Linked DNA regions of Homo sapiens: region 2 is linked to region 1. The links are contacts of gene promoters, found by promoter capture Hi-C in blood cells and fetal thymus (Javierre and others, 2016). All regions are on one chromosome and are shown on one strand. Each heading gives the region's core, a stretch centred on a gene start or on the middle of the fragment in contact. The rest is flanking DNA. Distances are from core to core; before and after follow the strand shown. Region 1 holds the start of RPL22L1 (ribosomal protein L22 like 1). Region 2 has its middle 10 kb from the start of ACTRT3.

Region 1 (3,338 bases), core at 401-2,900:
GTTTGGGAAGAACTGAATTATTTACAACTTTTAGTCTTCCCATCTGCACATTTCTCGCTAATATTCTTGTTTTTTTTTCTAATTGACAAACATTTTTCCCCCATTACAGTTTCTAACTAGTTATTTGGTGATTACTAGTTCTTGTGAAACAGGTATGTTTCCATATCCTCCTTGTACAAATGGCTTAATAGTGCTTAAGGAGTTTATTGTCAAGACATGGAAGACTGCTAAAGACAAGCAAAATAGAATCATTTCTGCCCCTCAGCTTAGGCAGCCCTTGAGGAGGAAATGCCAATTGCTCCCTTTAATGTTTGGAAAGAGAAATGTGATTATTGTAGCTCTTAAGGCAGACAACTAAAAAATCTTGTTGAAATGGATTTCTTCTAGGAATTCAGGGCCTCTCTTCAGACTCTACAAGTCATATGCTCTATTAAAGCATAGTTTCCACGATAACTACTTGCTGGCATAAAGGCCACGAACAGTTCTTACTTTCTGGGGTCATTCTTCAAATTAACAACAAAGTCCACCCCATCCCTTACCCCTACCCCTAGGTATGATAATTTCATCTCCACGAAAACATATTACTGCTAAACCCAAGCGGTTCAGCATGCCACTTTTCGGATCTGATGTCAATTTACAATCCTTCAAAGCTCAAAAGCTACTTTTTCCTTTTGTCAGCAAGACACTTCCACCCTCGTGTGTCTTGTACATACTGATAGGTCACAGCAAACATTCATTGAATTTTAACTGGGAGCATTTTGGATGGAAATCAAGAGACCTGGGATTAACTGTAAAACCCATGATAAATTATACCAAACGAATGAACAAGAAGCAAGCACTACGTGTTTTTCCCTTTGAGACAGTCTCACTGTTACCCAGGCTGGAGTGCAGTGGCTCGATCTCGACTCACTGCAACTTCCGCCTCTCAAGGTAAAGCGATGCTCCTGCCTCAGCCTCCCGAGTGGCTGGGAGTACAGACGCGCACCACCACGCGGGCCATTTTTTTTAAAATTGTTTGTAGAGACGGGTTCTCCCTATGCCTACGCTGCCAAGGGTGGTCTCGAACTCCTGGGCTCAAGAGATTCTCCGGCCTCGGCCTCCCAAAGTGCTGGGATTACAGGCGTGGGCGTGTAAGCATATATATACATGATTTTTTTTTCCCGAGGACCTGGTCCCCGAAGCACCAATTTCCCTCAACAGTCATTTAGAAAACGAGGCTCACAGACAAAACACAAACAAATAACTTTTTCGCTGGAGGATTATAACTGCAATAAAAGGAGATCCCAAAGCAACCTGAGACACTGCCTTGCCCTGATTGGAAAGGGGATTCCGGTGATTAGTGAAAGATGACTCCTGCATCCCTCGCGTGCGTCCGTATCCGGGAGCAGCCACTAGGTAACTGTAGAGGCCACTGCAATTAATCGGCTTGAACAGCCAGGAGCGGAAACCCGAGAGTCAGTTCAACCACAGCCACCCGCGTGTGCCCGCGGAAAGCCGATGGCCTACTCTCGTCCGGCAGCGCACTGGTTTCCTGGGTTACCGGCCTCAGCGCTCCTCCCGCTTTCTTTTCCGGGAGGCGACAATCTGACGCTCTCAGCGCGTGACGCAGCACGCTTTGATATAAATGCAGACCGCGCGGCCGTAGCTTCCTCTCTGCTCTCGCGGCCGACTCGCAAGATGGCGCCGGTGAGTGAGCGATGTCTTGGTGGGAGTGTTGTGTGGCAATTTAATGATTTCCGCTGTAACGATTTTTGCATCTGTCGAGTGGAGACGTCTCAGTCAAGATAAAGGGAGGGGAGTAGTGAAGTCTGGGTCAGAAACACAACCAAGACGCGAGGATCCTGAACTGTTTTTCGAGACTCCCTGGCAGCTGCCATGAGGTCTAGTGGAGTTGGAGCTGGGCCCGGAATTGGTTTAGGATGGGTGGTTTTGGACACGCGGGAAAGAGGGAGGCACAACTGTAAATGGGCCGGTGGTACTGCAATCTGAGCCATTTCTTTACTATCTCGCGCCTGATAATGCTTTTGCCACTCAGCACTGGGTAGGGGAATGGTGGGTAATCGGGCCGGTCTGACGACCTTTGCCAGGCCAGAGGGAGCTCCTAGGCGCTCAGCTCCCGCGATGGCCGACATCACAAGTTTTTGAGAACTTTCAGTTGGGGAAGAAGTTTCTCGGTGAAGTAATTTTTAGAAAAGTATAAGTCTAGATTCCAGCAATGTGAAATAAACGTGCTTCAGATGTTTTACTTAAGTCATTAGTAAGGGAACCAGTAAGATGTTAAAATGTTCCTAAGAATATCTGAAAAGCTAGATATACATGCGCAATTTACAAATAAAGTTAGGATAAAATTGCTGGGCTAGCTACAAAACTGGGTAATGCCCAGCATGGCCATAAACCCTATAGGGTTATCTGTTCCATTAGACAGAAGTTGTTTGTGTCTCCCAAATTAACTTCTGCGCCAACTGGGTAATTATCTTTTGGCACATGTTACCATGCTACCTGAGAAAGCAAACTAATGTGTAATACTTGGTAGCCACTTGGGTGAATCTAAATTGGAGGTTATAGTCTGATAAATACAGATTTGTTTGTTCATATTGCAGTGAATGTACATGGTTGCTGGCCACAGTAACATTTTGCTTATGTAGCCATATTATATGGTCTTGGTATAAAAGGTTTGGATATGGAAAATTTAAGTTCCACGGTGTTGGTTTTTAGGTTTTTTTTTTTTTTTGAGACAGAGTCTGTTGCCCAGGTGGGAGTATAGTGGCATGATCAGGCTCACTACAACCTCCGCCTCCCGGGTTCAAGCAATCCTCCCGACTCAGCCTCCTGAATAGCTAGGATTATAAGCATGCACCACCACACCTGGCTAATTTTTGTATTTTTACTAGAGATGGGGTTTCACCATGTTGGCCAGGCTGGCCTTGAACTCCTGACCTCACGTGATCCTCCTGCCTCAGCCTCCCAAAGTGCTGGGACGGCACCTTGCCTTTTTTATTTTTATTTTTTCTTTTTCTTTTCTTTTCTTTTTTTTTTTTTTTACCAAAGTCCCCTTCCCTTGCCTATAATAACGTAAGAATTGAATTTTCTAGACATAGGTGGGTGGAATCCTAGCTCTGGCACTTACCTGAGCTTGGGCTAGGCAGTATACTAACCTATTCCCATCTGCAGTGGGGTGGCAGAAAAGCACGATAATTTAAAATTGATCATTGGTAGTATAGAAAACAATGAAAGTCCGTAACTTTTTGACAACTTGAACATATTAGGACTTGGTTAGAGGTTCAAATCAACCCCGGCGTGGGTAGTGGTGGTGTTTTTTTATTTATTGTTACATTTCT
Region 2 (3,338 bases), core at 359-2,858, 1.1 Mb after region 1:
GTTTTAAATAAGATGAGAATGAAGTGACAAAAGGTAACTGTCATTCCTTCATGTTCATTCTTTTAAGGTAATAATATGTGATGGAAGTAAAAACAGCGAAAATACCCAAGAATTAGCCCAGGATATGCAAATTTAAATGTCTGCAGTGGACAGAAAGGAAACAAAGAAGTGAATCACACTGGGAATAAGAAAATGGAGACTATAGAGATGGTAGGGAGAATGAGCTTCCCTTTTTAAGGAGGCAGCAATCTTACAGAAATTGAGCCTAAAATTGTCAGTATTGCAAGAGAAGACAAAAATTCAGATTTTTATGTCAACACCACTGATTATAGAATGTTGGTAGCTAAATTGAAATAAAATTTAAATATTATATAAGTGCATGGTAAAGAATTTGGATGGCTTTTGTTCCTGAACCCTGGGAAGTAGCCTCTAAACCCTTGGAATTCACCAAGAATGGTGGGAGTGTCTTTTCTTGGTAGGCCTCTTGGACTAGACCCAATAGTTTACACTAACGAGATGACTCATGACTGGGGGTTGGTCAGCCATGTGATTAGAGTGTTGGGGCTTTGGGCCCCATGATACTAGCCCGACCTCTTGAGAGACTTGGAGCCACATGTCTGAGCCTTATGACTAGTGATTCATCCAATCATGCCTGTAATGAAGCCCCAATAAAAACTCTGGACACACTGAAGCTTGGATGAACGTCCGTGGTTGGCAGTACTCAGTGTGCTAGGAGGAAAATGTGTCCCTGAGGACATGAGGAGAGGGACAATGGAACCTTCTTTCTGGGACCCTCCCAGACCTCACTCTATGTGTCTCTCCCTTTGGCTGGTTTTGATTTGAATCCTTTTGCTATAATAAAACCATAATAATAACTATAATAAACATCCTTTTGCTATGATAAAACTGTAATAAAACCGAAATAACACTTTCCTGAGTTCTCTAAGTCATTCTACTGAATTATGAAACTTGAAGGGGTAGTGGGAACCCCTAAATTTGTAGGCAGCTTGTCAGATGTAAGGATGGCCTGGGGACCTCCTAGCTTAGGTTGTTGATAGCTGAAGTCATTGCAATGCACCAATAAAAAAACGTTTTGAGATAAAATCTGGTCTATTATAGGCTATTAATTTGCGACCTTTGGCCTAGGCAAATTTAAGCATTCCTGAGTGCTTTCTCTAGAAGGGTGAGGGTTTGGACCATCCTACCAGTTTGAGGCCTACCCAAAATAAATGTATTTGAGAGGAGTTTACACTGGTGGTATCTGTTATAGGTTTCTGGGAATATCACTAAAGAGAAGTTTCAAAATTAAATTTTAATAATATTCTGAAAATAGTAGTGCTAATCCTTCACGTATAGGGGTTAGGGTATTTCTTCCAGTGGTTCTGCCTGAGGGGTGGGCCTGTTTTTCAGTGTCCATTCTGTCAGTCGTTATGGGATGTGAAGAGGGTTCCAAGGGTTCCACCATCACTAGGTGGAAATGAGGCAACTTTTCCCATATTTTTCCTTTACTCTGGTTTGTATCTCCCCTCCTAGGTAGGTATCAAAGTATATATGGTCTTCATTTGTGTTGCCTCAAATTCTCATTTCTTCCTTGATATAAAAAGGAAACAGGAAGACATTGAAATAAGGATATTATTGTGGTCCTGTACTTTTACCCTGTTCTAACCTAGCTGAGGGAATCTAGCATAAGTCACCCAACTTTACATTCCACATGTGTCAACCGGATGTACTAAGACTTCCCTTGAAGGGTGGTTGTGGGGAGAATATATGAGTAATATATATGACAGCAACTGGTATTATTAATGAGAGGAGAAGTCTGTCTTACTCTTTACTTTGCAAGTAATGATTTTACAGCGCTCTGATGGGTATGTTGTAGTTACTCTGGCAGGAAGTGGTTTTGACTTGGGTATATAGTTAAGAGATATATGGAGAAGGGTGGAAGTGCTAATGGTTTGTGAATTTTTAAAATAACACCAATTATGAACTTGATGCACACCTGCAGCTAGAATCTTTCTCTAGATGATGTTTGACTATCATTTTTTTTTTTTTTTTTGTCTTGGGGCTCTAGGTTTTCACTTTGGTGATATTTATGTGTGTACTATGGCTGTCTATATAAGTGTTAAAAGGCATAATTATAGTTATTAAAAACAATTTAAGGAAAACAGAAAAATGCAATAATGAAGAAATACAAATACTGACTTTTTTGTATGATCAATGAGGATATTATAACTAAAATGAAAAACATTATACATATCAGTTGCAAAAACAGTTACATTCCCCACAATCTTTTTAAAAAATGCGAGTAGTTTGCTAAAGTGAACTGGGTGACTTATTTTCAACCTTGGAAGAAAAACTCAATTAAAGCTACATTTGAACTGTAATGGCACCAAGGAGTTCAACTTGACCTCATATGCCAGATTATAATCATCTTTCAAGTGTACAAACAAGGAAGCATAGTTATCAAAGAATGAGAAATACGTTTGTTCAAAGACCATTTACTGCTTTAACAAGAGGTGAAAGCTTGCCAGAAATATATAAACACCTACCCCAGTGCTATTCATAGGCTTAACATGTTCAAAGACTTGGGGGCGGAGGGGGGGCAATTTAAAAATATCTTTGAAGTTGTGGGTATTCATCATCATATCTAATAATGCTTACTTTCTAGAGCCCCTCTCCAAGGAGGGCAAAGCAATTTATCTGACTTATTTTCATGACATCCTTGTGAGATAAGGCAACCACCATTATCTCCCTTCTGCAAATGGAGAAACTGAAACGTTGGGAGGTAAAATCACTTGAAGAAGGTCAGTAGCAGGCCTAAGAATGTAAATACACGCATTTTAGCTTTTAACTGCTATTTTACTTTACAGAAAACTAAACAAACAAAAAATAATTTTAAAAAAATCACATACTTTTTCATTCTCTTTTTAAGTTAAAGAATAATTACTCATCTATCAACTTTTCCTTGGTAAGGAAAACAGTTTAAATGGCTTTTCACAATAACTGGAATCTTATTATACTGGAATGAATGAACCACTTGCAAAGTTGTGATGTTCATTTAACAAACACTAAATACCTAGTCTGCAACATGTTGTATTGTTCAGGGTGTTGAGACTTCAAAGGTGAAACATATATTCCTCATCTTTAAAGGTCTTCCTGGAGAGAGAGATTCTATAAGCAAATTATATGGTGCAGTCTCATGTTATTTAAATTTACTAAATTCATCATTTTATCCCCCAAATCTATTTTTTCTTCCCTTTCCCCTTCCCGTAAATGCTACTGCTACACCCAGGAGCTAAAACCAGTCTTCTGGGCACCACTGCTGATGTCTCATTTTCCCC

What was found. Contacts are between HindIII fragments. The CHiCAGO score rates a contact against its expected background, and 5 or more counts as called.
Region 2: a fragment that was not itself captured here is called in contact with the fragment with the promoter of RPL22L1 in region 1 in 2 of 17 cell types (naive CD4 T cells and naive B cells); the score reaches 5.7 in naive CD4 T cells.

The regions. Positions count from the first base shown.
Region 1 is chr3:170,868,507-170,871,844 of GRCh38, reverse strand. It overlaps RPL22L1 (ribosomal protein L22 like 1), which reads left to right and starts at 1,650. Exons shown (of 4, transcript NM_001099645.2): 1 at 1,650-1,686. The coding sequence starts at 1,678. RefSeq lists enhancers at 486-1,211, 1,212-1,938, 2,108-2,157. The HindIII fragment of the contact is 15,380 bases long and covers 1-3,338 here.
Region 2 is chr3:169,757,919-169,761,256 of GRCh38, reverse strand. No RefSeq gene overlaps it. Among named protein-coding and RNA genes, the nearest start is that of ACTRT3, 10 kb to the left of the region's middle. The HindIII fragment of the contact is 1,828 bases long and covers 695-2,522 here.